Linked DNA regions of Homo sapiens: all the other regions are linked to region 1. Evidence: promoter capture Hi-C in human tissues and cell types (Jung and others, 2019). All regions are on one chromosome and are shown on one strand. The core of a region is centred on a gene start or on the middle of the fragment in contact, and the rest is flanking DNA. Distances in the headings are between cores, read along the strand shown.

Region 1 (3,643 bases), core at 562-3,061:
GGGCCTTGGTTATTTATAGAGTGTCAGATGCCCAGGGTTGTCTGTGCTAGCAGCTGCAGGTCAGCTCCCTCCCAAGTGCCAGGACTGGTGGAGAACCAAAACTGGAGGCTGGAGGTCACAGAAGCCCAACCCCTGGGGGGCTGGGAACATGAGCAGTCGACACAAACAGCTATGTCATCTCTGATGTTCAGACCATGCTTTATGCTAATCTAACCATAGGTTCATCTTAAAACAATCCTGGGTGGAAGGAAGATGGGGAAACTGAGGCAGAGAATGGGGAAACTACCACCACACCAAAGCCATATGGCCATTCTCCTACCTTAAGCTGGGGGTTGGGAATGGCAGGAAGTGAAGTCTGGTTGGGGTTGTGGGGTGGGCAGAGAAATCTCAGGGTAAATGACCTGCCAAGGTAGCTGCTTTGGCATTTGTGGCCCTGTCCCTCTGCCCTGTGGCCTGGCATGGTCTCCAGGCTGACAGCTTAATGAGGGTAAATGAGGAGCCATTAGAACCTGAGCTGGGGCCCCAGGGCACAGCAGGGCTGCTGAAGCCAGAGGTCAAGGCCAGGGAATTTCTAATGGCCCCTTAGGGTTGTAACTCAAGTGGGGTCTCATCTCTGGATCCCTCTCCCTCCTCCTGCAGGCTAGTACCTCACATCCACATCCCCCCATCCCCAAACGGCTGCAGTCTCCTCTCCAATTTCAGCTGGAGGATTAATTGAGGTAGATGGTAAATTCTTATACCTTCCACCCCCACAATGACTCATTGCTTGATCACTGTACATTCTAAAAGCTGGAACCAAACAGAATTACAGGGCTAAGTCCTCTGGGGGAAGTGGTAGGTGGTTTTGATTTATCCACTGTCTTGGATTACTTGTGTAAGTTTACCCTAGCCCTGGTTACTGAGATGAAACCATTTCTCTCCTGGCGCTGGGGACATAAGGGGATAAGGTGCCCCAATCCTCTTATTCCCATACCCGGGGGGCCCCTTCCCAGAGCCCTAACTCCTCCCATTGTCCCCCAAGTCCACACTCACATCAGTGGCCTTCTTCTCGGCCTGCTCCAGTTTCTCCTGGGCCTCCTTCACGGATTCAGAATACTTTTCCACCTCATCCTCTGTCCCCTTCAGCTTCTTCTGGAGGGCCTGCTGCTCCTCCTCCAGCTGGGACAGAGGGGACTTGGTCAGCCAGGCTGGGAGGGGGCCCAGGCCCAGAATGGAGACGCGGTGTGTGTAGGGGCGCTACTAAGATTTGGAGGCTACTGGGATGGAAGCGGAATAACATAAAAGGGACAGTACAGTCAAGGGTACTGGTGGGACCCGTTGAGGGTACAGAGAAAACTTCAGGCCCCAAGGAGCAGGACCAACCGCGCTCTGCAAAGGCAGAGTGGAAACCAGGGGCCTGGGGCTTCCCCAGGCTATTGTAGGGGAGAGAAGCGGCTCTGGCGAAGGCCCTGAGGGTACTGCGAAGGCCCAGCCCCCACCCTGGGTGAGAGAGAGCCTTGGCGGGCAGGCCCGGGGCTGGGGGACCCATGGCAGCGGCCCACCCTTGCCCTAGGCGCGGGGAGAGCAGGCTGCACTGGGCCCGGCCCTAACCTGCTTGCAGCGGTCCTCAGCTTGCTTCTTGTCGGCTTCGGCCTGCTCGGCGCGGTCGATGGCGTTCTCCTTGTCCAGCTTCAGCATCTGCATCTTCTTCTTGATGGCGTCCATGGCTGCGGTGGGGGGTGGGCCGGCCGGCAGGCGGTGAGGACCGGACGGACTGGGCTGGGTGAGCGGACTGGGTGCACCGGTGGCAGGCGAGGAGGACGGAGCGGGACTGGGACGTCCCGGCCACGCGGGCGCCTAAAAGGCGGGGAGGGACCGGGCGGGGCCGGCAACCAGGACCCTCCCCCACCTCGGCCCAAACCTTGTAGGGGCAGAAGCACGGCCCGGCCGGGGGGTGCGGCCGCCCCCTTCGCCCACCCACTGGGGACCGCCTCCCTTGGGGTCCCGCCCCCATCCCCCTCTTCCCTGCCAGCCGTCGGAGGAAAAAGTGGCCGACGGTCGGCTGGAAAAACCCCGGCGATGCGAAGGGGAGGGGACCCTTGGGCTGGGGGCTCCGTGCTTCCTCTGAGTGACAGCCGGACCCAGTGGCAGCTGCGGCTGGGGCCCCTGGGGCTATTTCGGGGCGTGAGCTCACGGCAGCTGCCCGGGCGCAGGGACCGGCGTGCCCCCCCTCAGCTGCAGCAGCCGCTACCCTTAATTTAGAAGTTTCCTGCAAATCCCCCCGGATTAAATGTCTCTCGGGAGGCGGAGCTCCTCGGCAGTTTGAGTGCCTCAGTTTACCCTGAGTCCCTCTAGGTTTGCGTTATCGACGTGGTGGTAGTAGCGGAGTCTCATCGGGAGCTTGGGGAAACTGAAGCAGGAAGCGAGCCCAGAGCCCCGGTCGCGGTGGGGAGTGTGGCCGGGCTTGCTGCCCCCAGGACCGGCCTGACCTCTCATCCCCTCGCCTCCCCTCCCAGCCCCTGCCCCTGGAGCCAGGCCCTTCCTGCGAGCACCCGGCGGCTCAGGACCCAGCTCCCCGCCCCGCCCCCCACGTGCCCCGCATATTTTCCACGCGGCTGCGGCCAGGCTGGTCACCGCGCGTTCCCCGCCCCCGCTCCCACCCGGACGCGTCCCGAGCCCCTCCGCTCCCCGCCCCTGGCTCCGCCTGGCCCCACTCCCCTCCGCGCGCCTTCCCTCTTCTCCCCCGCTCCCCGCGGACGCTCCTCTCTTTCCCAGTGGGCCAACTTTATGCTGAAATTTCTTTTCTGCCCTTTTTTGGGATGTTTCCCCATTGGGAGGCGGAGCCGGGCTGCGGCGGGGAAGGCGGAGGGCGAGGGGAAGAGTCACTGAGCTGCGGGGCATAGGGGGTCCGGGGCGAGGTGCCTTCTCCCACCCAGGCCGCCAAACCAGCGCCGGAGCCGGGTCGTGGGGTCTGGGAGTCGGAGGCGCGAGGCGCGAGGGTGTTTGTTTTCGTTTTTCCCTGGGGTGGGGTGGGGGGAAAGGAAGTGGAGAGCCGCCGGGAGGAGGGGGAAGGGGAGGAGAGAACAAGCGGAGGAAGCCGGGAGGGAGCTGCTAGCCTCGCCCCCACCCTCCAGTCATAGAGGGGCGGGAGGCCTGGATTTTGCAGTGGGCTGGGGACCGTGGGAACCCGAGGCCGCTGGCCGGGGCGGTGGGGAGGTGGCGTGGAAATGCATTCAGATCTGTTTAGCTGCCTGCTAGCCACACGGAGAGCAACCCTGGCCTGACCTCGCAGTGTTCCTCTAACTCCGTGGAAGACGCCTCATCCACCAGTAGCCTATGCTAGACCACTGGGTATCCCCTGCCCTTCGCGTCTCACAACCACCTAATCCTGGAGAGGCTGCCTTCTACCAAGGAGGTTCCTCCTCGGGTCGGTCTGGGCTGGCCTCTGGCCGCGCCTTATGTTTTCTTCAGTCTGTTTTGTAGTCTTACTTCTAGTTCCTCAACTCATTCATTCATTTGACTGTCCCATGACATTGTTGTCAAATATCTTTTTAAAAGTTAATGCGAATATTATCTAAAATTCTCCAAAACCCCTCCCTAATCCCTGTCCCCCCACCTTTTTTGAGACGGGAGCTTGCTAGATTGCCCAGGCTGGTCTTGAACT
Region 2 (3,643 bases), core at 538-3,037, 210 kb after region 1:
TATTGTCTACTTTTTAGAAGTGTTTCTTTTTATATGTGTGTAGGACAGGTTGAAAACCCACTCAGGAAATTATTATCTCTTTGAACATTGTTCTACAAAAGCTTAATCAGGAGCTTTTTCAAATTTCAGGGCAAAAGAACTTGAAAGCTTCTCTCCTTTTCCTCTTTATTATCCTCTTATGCCTGTGTCCTGATTTTCCTCTCCTGTGGATTCTCGGAGACATGACTTCTCTTTCCCATCAGAGAGCAAGCTTTCTGAGTGAAGCATCATACTCGGTTACATCTCTCAGCCTAGCACAATATTGTTCTGGGTTAGAGGTAGGCTTTGGGGTCAGACAGGTCTGCACTTGATTCTGGCTCTGTCATTTACTACTGCGTGACCCAGAATGGGTGCTTTATTTATTTATTTGTTATTTTGGGGGACAGAGTCTCACTGTATCCTCCAGGCTGGAGTGCAGTGTCACGATCTCGGCTCACTGCAACCTCTGCTCCCAGGTTCAAGCGATTCTCCTGCCTCAGCCTCCTGAGTAGTTGGGATTACACACCCAGCTATTTTTTTGTATTTTTAGTAGATATGGGGTTTCACCATGTTGGTCAGGCTGGTCTCGAATTCCTGATCTTAGGTGATCCACCCACCTTGGCCTCCCAAAGTGCTGGGATTACAGGGGTGAGCCACCATGCCGGGCAACAGTGAGAGCTTTAACTCTCTAAGCCTCCTATGTAATGTGAGGACAATAGGTTTGTTGTGAGATCTAAAGATACATTTGTAAAGTGTAATTATTCTAGCAATTATTAAAATAGTTGGGGAGGAAAAGGAAAGGAGATTATTGCTTATGAATGACTCCTTTTGTGCTTTCCTTGTGAATATTTAGGTCCCAGAATTTACCCAGTGTGTTGTAATAATTTATATTTCTGTCTCCTGTCCTAGGTAAAAAGCTCTTGGAAGGCATGGATTGTCTTTTTTCTACCCAGCCTCAGCACCAGGCACAGAGTCTAGTTCAACAGATGTTAGTTATATCAATGAATATAATTCTAAGTGTCACAATTATCTTTAGATAATGATTTCAGAAAATTACAGAGACTTGAAAATCCAGAGAGCAATAAATCTTAGACTGCACAGATTCAATCTGTCTCCAGTTCTTCCCTCGTTGTGCATGAGGGCAAACTTAGGCTCAAGAAAGTTCACTATGTTTACTGCATATACATGTCTCAAAGCCCATGGACATGCTGCCCAGGGAAGGCAGGAGAAGCAGTCCCCTTGGATTAATCAGCTCCCACACATCCCCAAGGACAGTGAATCTAGGAGACCTCTTCCACCTGTTGGCATCTTTTTTTTTTTTTTTTGAGACAGAGTCTCGCTCTGTCACCCAGGCTGGAGCACAGTGGCGCGATCTCGGCTCACTGCAACCTCTGCCTCCCGGGTTCAAGCGATTCTCCTGCCTTGGCCTCCTGAGTAGCTGAGACTACAGGCGCACGCCGCCACACCTGGCTAATTTTTTTGTATTTTAGTAGAGATGGGGTTTCATTGTGTCGCCCAGGCTGGTTGCGAACTCCTGAGCTCAGGCAATCCGCCGCCCTTGGCCTGCGAAAGTGCTAGGATTGCAGGCATGAGCCACCGCGCCTGGCTGGCATCTTTAAAATGACACCAATGAAGCTTATGATTCTGGGGTCTAGCTGCTCTCTTCGTTGGTGAATAGGTGGATCACTTTGCAGACCTGTTCTACTTGGTGGGCATGCTTCTGAATATTTTTCTAAAGGTGCTGTAACTTTTGTTGCTTTCATTATTATACAAGTAAAATGTTTATTGTTGCAAGTTTTAGAAATGTAGAAATGCCAAATAAAAAGCAGTCACCTGCAAACTCACTGCTCAGAGGAAGCCCTATAAAGATTGCATCTTGTAGCTCTTCAGACTTCTGTCTGTGCGTGTTTATAGGTGTAACACAAACATTGCCAGCACTAACCACCCTGCATGTACAAATGAGGTCACATTTTCATGAATTCCTAGATTTTGCAGACCACACTCCCCATCCAAATAACATCAGTGCCTCAGTGTATTCACCTCTAGCCCTGTCTTCCTGTAGCCTTCCCCATTTGTTTTTGAAGCTCCCTAGCAGCTGCTGCACACATTTTGCACTTCATGCCTTTCTTCTCTCTCCTTCCCATCATCCTTTGGGGCCAGAAGGAACCAGGCTTCTCCCAGGCCTGGATATCATGGCCTCCATCTACCTTAGAGCTTCAAACTTCGGCTACATGGCTGTCGCATGTGGAATGGAGGAGCTTTCTACGTTATAGGAGATCTGCATGGGCTGGGTCCTCGTTTGGTCCTTGATTCAGTGTGTTGAAAGGGAGAGAAAAAAGAATTTGGAAAATCCTCTTAGGAAACTGGCTTGACTTACAGGGCAAAGTCCAATTTTGAAGGTCAAAGACTGCATGCATATTAAAGTCCTTCTCCTTGCATTCTTTTTGTAATAATTCAACTCTCTCTCCAGACAAATGCTCTGGAACAACTAGGAAGAAACTTACATATTTGGAAAAGTAACTTTAAAGAGCAGGTTATCAGTCTAGGCAACATAGCGAGACCACGTCTCTACAAAGAATAAAAAAGTTAGCCAGACGTGGTGGCACACACCTGGAGTCCCAGCTACTTGGGAGGCTGAGGCGGGAGGATTGTTTGGGAGGAGGTAGAGGCTGCAGTGAGCTCTGATCATGCCACTGCACTCTAGCCTGGGCAACAGAGCAAGATCCTATCTCAAAAAAAGTATATTACTACTTTTCAAAAATATTACCTCTATAGCATATAAGAATTTATTTAACAGATGCTTGTGGCAGGTTGTTTGCAAGTCTCACAGGATCCATATCCCCTGAAGTGCAGCCTGGACTATAATGCGGGCTCCTCCCTTTCAGACACATGGTGTGGTGCTTCGGTTAGTCAGGTCTTCTTTCACAGCTGTCAGTGAAGACTTGCTTTTTCTTTTGTTCATTGGTCTTCCACATCTCTTGTTAAGTTTATTCTTGTTTGTTCTTAGAAGTTTTATAATTTTTGTTTTAAGTTTCAATAATGCCTTCATTCTGTCTTTGAATTAGTAATTACTGTTATGTAGGAAAATCACCGATTTTGTATTTTTATTTTTAAATTTTAGAATCTAAATTTATTATTATTATTATTATTATTATTATTATTATTTAGAGATGGGATTTCACCATGTTGGCCAGGGTGGTCTTGAACTCCTGGAGTCAAATGATCTGCCTGCCTTAGCCTCCCAAAGTGCTGGGATTATGGGCATGAGCCACTGCTCCTGGTCAAAAATTTAAATTAAGTTTTATTTAAAAATTTGAATTTTTAAATTAACTCTTATTAGTGTTAATAGTTCTCCAGTATATTCTTTCAAGTTTTCCAGATATGTAGTCACATCATCTCTAATATTTCTACCTTTTATTATACATTGTTATTGTATTAAGCTAACTAAAAATGGTGGAAGTAAGCATTCTAGCTTGTTCCTGGTTTCAACAGGAATCTCAAAGTGCTGGGATTACAGGCCTATTTTTTTTCACCATTAATCATGATGTTGACTACTGGTTTGAGATATTTTTCCTTTTAATAATGTTAAAAGAGTATCCTCCTAATAGTACACTTTTTTTGTTTT
Region 3 (3,643 bases), core at 448-2,947, 170 kb after region 1:
GGATAGATGGTCAGGATAAAGAAAGCCAAACCTCCCATAGCTCTTGGGTTGACACTGTCAGCTGGTGTGGTAGTCATTAGGCCATTCACAAATCTCTCTGTCCCTCTCGTTTGCCATCCAGACACACGATAGTGTGCTTTTCCCCCTTAACAATAGGTGTGGTCCTGTGCCTTCCTGTTGCCATTGTGTTGGCCACTGAAATGTAGGTGGAGGCAACACAGCCACTTCTGAGTAGAAGCTTTAAGAGTCAGTGTAGGCTTTGTTACTTTCCCTTTTCTTTTTGTCATGGTGACCAGCAGTGTTCCCAATGGTAGCTGTTTTGTCATCCTGAGTCCCAGAGGGGTGAAGACCATGATGCGGAGCAGAAGCCCCACCAGCCTCTGGTGGACCTGCATCAGGAGCAAGAAACAAACCTTAATGGCTTTAAGCCTCTCAAGGTTTGAGGTCATGACCACAGCACAACCTAGCCTATGCCAGCTGACAGGGGCAGAGGGCAGCAGTAGCAGTGGGATGCTTTCCTGGAGAGCAAACCTCCTCTCAGCAGAGTTAGGACGGCAGCTTTCACCTCTGCATTCCTCAGGCTGTAAATGATGGGGTTCAGCGAGGGCGTCACAACCCCGTAGAACAATGCGACAGTCTTATCCACGTTGGGATCCTTGGCCTTGGGTTTGAAGTACATGAAGGAGATTGTCCCATAAAAAACCACCACCACTGTGCGGTGGGCTGAGCAGGTGGAGAAGGCTTTGCACCGGCCTGCAGCAGAGGGTACCCTAAGGATGGCAGACAGGATGAAAAGGTAAGACAGGCAGATGAGCAAGAGGGGGGCCAGTGTCAGGACGGCTGTGGCCACCATTAATGCCAGCGCATTGAGGGAGATGTCCCCACAGGCCAGTTTTAGCACTGCCAAGATCTCATAGAAGTAGTTGATGACGTGGCCACAGAAGGGGAGGTGCCAGACAAGGATGGACTGTAGCAGTGAGTTGGCAAAGCCTGTCCCCCAGCTCAGCGCTGCCATCTGCATGCAGGTCTGCCCACTCATGAGCTCTGGGTACCTAAGCGGCTGGCAGATAGCCACATAACGGTCATATGCCATCACAGCCAGCAGCAGGCACTCCGTTGATCCCAGCGCCAGGGTCAGGTACATCTGCAGGGCACAGCCAGGGAAGGAAATGGTCCTCTGGGTTTCCAGGAAATTGTCTAGCATGAGAGGCACAAAGGAGGAGGTGCCGCAGATGTCCATGAGGGAGAGGTTGCTGAGAAGTACATGGGGTTGTGCAGGCGAGGGTGCAGCACGTTCAGCCCTATGAGGAGGGCGTTCCCCAACACATTCACGGAGTAGATGCCCAGGCAGAACACAAACAGGACCACCTCCAGGTTACAGTGCTCGTGTAGCCCCATCAGGACGTATTCCGTCACAGCTGTCTGGTTTGCCCACTTCATCTCATTCTCTCTCCTTTTCCATCTGGACCACCCAGCTTTTTGGAAAAAGCTCCAACTGGCCTGGGAGCCCAGTGACCTGATGTCTGAGCTGCAGCAGGTCAGCCTCCCTCTCTGGAATTTAGTTTCACCATCTGTATAATGAGGGAGTTGGACTTCAGATCTGCAATCTGGCCTTCTCAGCGCTGCAGTTCTGTGGACGTCACTGAGGGGAGGATGGGGCACATTCTAGTCCCCTAGGCTCCTCTCTGCTCTCCCCAGGATGGGGTCAGAGGAGACAGCAGAGAAAGATTCATGTTTAAAATGATCGTTTGGAATCCAAAGTGTTTTTGGTCATTAACAGGAAGCATCTTTTCTACATTACGGTTTCATGTGACCAAATTATGGCCATAGTATTTCAGATTTATTCATCCACTAAGTATTTATTAAGTACCTATTCTGTGCTAGGTATCAGGTGCTGGGGCTATAGCAGTAAGGAAAGTAAGTGGACAAAAGGATTCCACACCTGTCACAGGCGCTGCCCCACTCCCTGAGTCAGGTGAGATGAGCTCCGGAAGGCAGGTGGGTAATGGATGATGCTCACCTAGTGTTCCTTGGGCCATGAAGATCAAATATTTCAGCCCCATAGGATGTGTAAGCTTGATTTCTGGTCATCTCTCCTTAAGGAATCATGGACCATTCATTATTTTGTTTAAAAGGACACATAAGAACGTACATGTCTCAATAGAGTTACTGGTCACAGGACTGAACTGTGGTCATGAAAGCCAAGCAACTTACTTTCTGGCCTCCATATTGCTTTGTAGGAGAAATGATACTGACAATGATGTCACACGAGGAGGGAAGCCAGGCACGAATCTGGTGGAGGTGCGGTCAGTTGTGACCAGCTTTGCAAAGGGAGCGGTGGGCGAGGCTGTGGTCTCTCCCAGGTGACCTCCATCGCCATGCAGAGCTGCTCTCACTTCTCCTCGGGAAAGGCCAGCGTCAGGTATTCCTAGGAGGAAGCCCAGGTGTGTCCAGAGAACAGTAGTCTTGTTAGAACTGGAAAAATGTCTTATGGCCAGGTGGCCCCTGGTCTGAAGGAAAAATAGGAGCTGAGTGTGAACTTTTATCACTCAGAAGATATAATCCACCTCTCCCCTCCTGCCCTTCGCTCCTGGGTTGGTTGTGAGGACAGTGCTTTGTGACAGCAGTGGAGCCCTGTCTGTCCTTCCGGGCTAGATTTCTTCTTTCTCTTATTCCTCCTGTTTCGTTGTATCCACGATTTGTCGAGTTGCAGGGCTCACCCTTTCCTGAAGAAACCATCTCTTTTCCCAGCTCCGCACCTTTGTCCGAGATGGAGGCGTGTCCTCCCGCCCATCCCCAGTGGGGGGTGTTCTGCCCATTCTCCAGAGCCCAGCACTGCTCCATCTCTTTTCCTCCCTCTCCTTCCCCTTGCTGTTACCTGCTGCCTTCTTGTGCTCCCACTGCCCTTGGCCATCCCTCTGTGTCATTGTGCGCTGTGGTGCACCTGTCTTCTCTACTACACCTTAAGAGCAGGACTCTGCCTCCTTCCTACCAGCACCTCATGCAGCAAGTGCTGCCAATAGCAGGCACCCAGCAGATAGCGAATGCACGACTCCAAAACCCAGCTTTGCCTCCTGGCTGTAGTTCAGACTAGCTGTGTGACACTGACCAAGACACTTGACCTCTCTCAGACTCAGCTTCCTCCTTGAAGACTGGGATGCTATGTAGCTCAGAGGAAACATACACCTGAAGGTGCTGCCCCGGGGGGTGCAATGACCTGTTACTGAGGCTGGATGGAGGATGGCATCCATCATCAGCTACAGGTGCCTCCTCTATCTACAGGTTCCTGCTCCATCTATACTAGCCACCTCCTGGACAAGGGCTCCAGTGTCCTCCATGACACCAGCTTTCTCCAGAGCCTGTGCAGGATTTCCTTCCTCTACCCTGAATCAGGGTGATTCTTAAAGGACAGTTTCAGGAACATATAGGGGCACTTGGGTAATCTTGGTCAGTAACTGACCTTTAACTATCATCCATGTGAACATCTACAGTTAGGGATTTTCTTGGTGATGTTTGGCAAAAAGTAAAGAATTCCCCAAGTGTGAAGCCTCATTCATTCACTTATTCAACAAATAGTTATTGAGCACCTACTATGTGTTAGGCCCTGGGCCAGGTGCTGGGAATACAGCAGAGACAGACCTGG
Region 4 (3,643 bases), core at 327-2,826, 130 kb before region 1:
GAGATGGGATAATGAGCAAAAGCTTGAAGTCAGTAACATCTGAAACATTTTCATCACTGAAAATGTGTGTGACTGTGACTCCAAGACTTAGAAACAAAGAAAATGGTTCTGCCATTGATAGAAATGGAAGTCATCGGAAAAAAGGAGAAAGGTGATGGATAAGCGGTTATAGCACATTTTAAGTGAAAGCAGAACTATAAAGCAGAATGATCTGGAGATGAAGAGGAAGGTCCAGGCTAAAGCTGTGGGTTTGGGAGTCATCCCGTAGAAGTCTGAACTCAAAACTTCTCAAGAAATAAAGTGTAAGGTGAGATGCAAGAGTTGAGCCTTAAGATACACTCACCTTTGGAGTCAAGAAAATGAAGAGGGACTGAACAGCAGAGAGGTACAAGACAGTCCAGCACCATAAAAGCAATAGGAAGCGTTTTACAAAAGAGGGGAGCAGTGTCCCATTCCACGAACTTCTACCCCATTCAATTCCTGCCAGCCAGGTCCCTGCCCCTCTCCCCTCTCCCATCTCTGCTTCTGGGTTTTCTCTCATATGGGTTTCAGTGTCTGTCTACTGATTTCTTCTCCATCCCTTTGCTACAGGGGGTGGCACCGAGAGCCGACCAGTCCTTCGCTACAGCAAGGAACAGAGGCCAACCACACTGCCCATCCAGCCCTTCGTGTTCCAGCACCACTTCCCCAAGCAGCTGGCCAAGGCCCGGGCCCTCCACAGCCTTTCCCAGCTCTACAGCCTCTCAGGCTGCAGCCGTACACAGCAGCCTGCCCCACTGGCTGCCCCTGCTGCTCAAGTCTCAGTCCCAGCTCCCTCAGGGGAACCGCAGGCATCCACTCCCCGAGCCACTGGCAGAGGTGCCAGGAAAGCTGGGTCTGAGCCAGAGACCTCTCGGCCATCGCCCCTGGGCAGCTACTCCCCCATCCGGAGTGTTGGCCCCTTTGGGCCCAGCACTGACTCTTCTGCCTCCACTTCGTGCTCCCCTCCCCCAGAGCAGCCCACAGCCACAGAAAGCCTGCCCCCATGGAGCCACTCCTGTCCTTCTGCTGTCCGGCCTGCCACCTCCCAGCAGCCGCAGAAGGAGGATCAGAAGATACTGACCTTGACTGAGTACCGGCTCCATGGAACAGGAAGCTTGCCGCCTCTGGGCTCCTGGCGATCTGGCCTCAGCCGAGCAGAGAGCCTGGCCCGGGGAGGTGGTGAGGGCAGCATGGCCACCAGGCCCAGTAATGGTACGAGCTCCAGCATCTCCCTACCCAACCCGCCACCTCACGCAAGCACTTCCACCACCTCCCCTTTGAGTGGTTGCTTACACTCTCACCTGGGGCCAGAGGTTAGGATGTCTGCATCCCTCCCTCAGCATCTGTAGATAATATCCACAGATAATCTAGTGTTTCATATGGGCCCACTGGGTGGATGTGAAACTCTGTCTCGCTGTCTCCTGCCAACTCTTGTCTTTCTGCTAATCTGTTCTGCTTCCAGCCAACCACCTATCCCCTCAAGCCCTCAAGTGGCGGGAATACAGGAGGAAGAACCCACTAGGGCCACCTGGTTTGTCAGGGAGCCTAGACCGAAGATCACAAGAAGCTCGGCTGGCCCGAAGAAACCCTATCTTTGAGTTCCCTGGCTCCCTCAGTGCTGCCAGCCATCTGAACTGCCGGCTGAATGGTGTGTGAGCAGGGTCCCCAGTACACCCGGGGCAGGCTCTGCCATGGCTGGAAAGGGCTAGAGAAGGGGTCAGTCCCAAAGGAACGTGTCTCAGACGGTACGAGGCACTGAACTGGCCTGGAACTCCTGCACTGAGAGTTGCTCAGGATTGATTTTTCTCTTCTTTCCAGGCCAAGCAGTGAAGCCGTTACCACTGACCTGCCCTGACTTCCAGGACCCCTTTTCCTTGACGGAGAAGCCTCCAGCTGAGTTTTGTCTGTCCCCAGATGGCAGCTCAGAGGCCATTTCCATTGACCTGCTTCAGAAAAAAGGTGCATACAACCCCCAGCTCAGGCCAGGGACTCTGCTGTCACTACCTCCTCACACTTGCCCTACTACCTAGCCAGTCTGAAACCTCTAAGTGCTGGCTGGGCCCAGTGGCTCACGCCTGTAATCCCAGCACTTTGGGAGGCCAAGGCAGGTGGATCATGAGGTCAGGAGTTCGAGGCCAGCCTGGCCAACATGGTGAAACCCCATCTCTACTAAAAACACAAAAAAAAATTAGCTGGGTGTTGTGGTGGGCGCGTGTAATCCCAGCTACTCGGGAGGCTGAGGCAGGAGAATTACTTGAACCCAGGAGGTGGAGGTTGCAGTGAGCCAAGATCACACCATTGCACTCCAGCCTGGGCAACAAAACTGAAAACTCCTTTTCAAAAGAAAACCACAAACAAATCTCCAGGTGCTGGGAAGGTGTTGGAGCACACAGGCTCTGGGGCCAGAGGAGGAAGCTGTGTGCTGTGTATCATGAGTGCATGTGAGTGAGCAAGGGTCATTCATCAGAGGCTTTCAGAGTCACGCTCCGGTCCCTTCCTGCAGTGAGCAAAGTCTCATGAGGAGGCTTCCATGTCATCAAAAAATGCCTCAGTGCTCTTGGAGGGGGCGGGTGAAGGTACTAGAGGGCCCAGCAGCTTGGGTAAGAGTGTTGGTGACATCTAGTAAGATGAAGATTGACAAGACCCACACTATTTAGCAAATAAGTGACCACTGAACTAAGAACATTTTTAGGGAGATGGAGAGAACTGAGCATAATTGTGGGCTGAAGATGAGCCTGTGAAGAGAGAGCTGAAGTTCCTTGCAAAGGCAGAAGGGGAGAATCAGAGCTCAGGGAGAAAGAACCCGGGCAAGAAGGGAAACGGCCACCTTCCTCCAGGACGCGAAGGGGATGCAAGTGGGCAGGGGAGTGAGGGGTGTACATATGAGATTGTTATGGATTTTGGAGGTAGAGGGAAGTTAAAGGAGTTTATAACTAGGGAACTCTGTTCTCTGAAGCAGAACCAAGGGCTTGAGAGGAGGGGTGTCGATTTCACATGGCAACTTGAGGGTATGGCAGAGAGTGCTGACAAGCCATGTGTCAAAGAACCGCCCTTGTCTGGCACTGGCACTGGGGTGAGGGACTTGGGTTTTCTTCAGGTCAGTGGCCCGGTTTCTCAGAGTGGAGAAAACCGATAGTTGGCCTGACCCAGGATTGGAATAAGGGCTGAGAGGTAAGGACATTGAGAGGCTTGACAGTGGCATCACTGAGGTAGCTCCAGGCTGGGAAGTAAAGACAGGAAGAGCTTAAGAACTGGGCAGAACCAGAAAAGGGCCAGGCCTGAATGTTTTGATAAGACCCATGTGCAGATGTGGAGACGGAGTAAGTGTGGGAGCCCTTTCCCTGAGGAAACCTGAGGTTTCAGCCCCAGCTGAGTTGGTTAAGGACTTGCTCAGGGACCTGTCACATCACATTCTTCCCTGCAGGGCTGGTAAAAGCTGTTAACATCGCTGTGGACCTCATTGTGGCTCATTTTGGCACAAGCCGGGATCCCGGGGTGAAGGTAGGCAAGGAAATGTGGAGAGCTGAGCTCTGCCTGCAAGCCCTCACCTGTCCCGCGCTACCACCTTCCCTTGCTGTCTTGCATTTAGAGCCCAGGGTTGGGTACTTAGGAATGGGGACGG

What was found. Contacts are between HindIII fragments. The study calls those that stand out against the background at their distance.
Region 2: a contact is called between a fragment that was not itself captured here and the fragment with the promoter of TPM2 in region 1, in 4 of the 25 tissues and cell types used here (heart left ventricle, lymphoblastoid cells, mesenchymal stem cells and 1 more).
Region 3: a contact is called between a fragment that was not itself captured here and the fragment with the promoter of TPM2 in region 1, in 6 of the 25 tissues and cell types used here (bladder, heart left ventricle, liver and 3 more).
Region 4: a contact is called between a fragment that was not itself captured here and the fragment with the promoter of TPM2 in region 1, in 2 of the 25 tissues and cell types used here (lymphoblastoid cells and thymus).

What each region holds. Positions count from the first base shown.
Region 1 is chr9:35,688,114-35,691,756 of GRCh38, forward strand. It overlaps TPM2 (tropomyosin 2), which reads right to left and starts at 1,812. Exons shown (of 9, transcript NM_003289.4): 1 at 1,591-1,812; 2 at 1,033-1,158. The coding sequence starts at 1,704. RefSeq lists an enhancer at 1-254 and a silencer at 3,150-3,229. The HindIII fragment of the contact is 5,966 bases long and covers 1-3,643 here.
Region 2 is chr9:35,893,876-35,897,518 of GRCh38, forward strand. No RefSeq gene overlaps it. Among named protein-coding and RNA genes, the nearest start is that of HRCT1, 11 kb to the right of the region's middle. RefSeq lists an enhancer at 1,515-2,014. The HindIII fragment of the contact is 7,635 bases long and covers 1-3,643 here.
Region 3 is chr9:35,858,541-35,862,183 of GRCh38, forward strand. It overlaps TMEM8B (transmembrane protein 8B), which reads left to right. Exons shown (of 13, transcript NM_001042590.4): 13 at 1-3,643. It also overlaps the pseudogene OR13E1P. Among named protein-coding and RNA genes, the nearest start is that of OR13J1, 10 kb to the right of the region's middle. The HindIII fragment of the contact is 4,522 bases long and covers 1-3,643 here.
Region 4 is chr9:35,554,469-35,558,111 of GRCh38, forward strand. RUSC2 (RUN and SH3 domain containing 2) reads left to right here. Exons shown (of 12, transcript NM_014806.5): 3 at 592-1,233; 4 at 1,484-1,669; 5 at 1,840-1,980; 6 at 3,446-3,522. Among named protein-coding and RNA genes, the nearest start is that of CIMIP2B, 7.6 kb to the right of the region's middle. The HindIII fragment of the contact is 7,099 bases long and covers 1-3,643 here.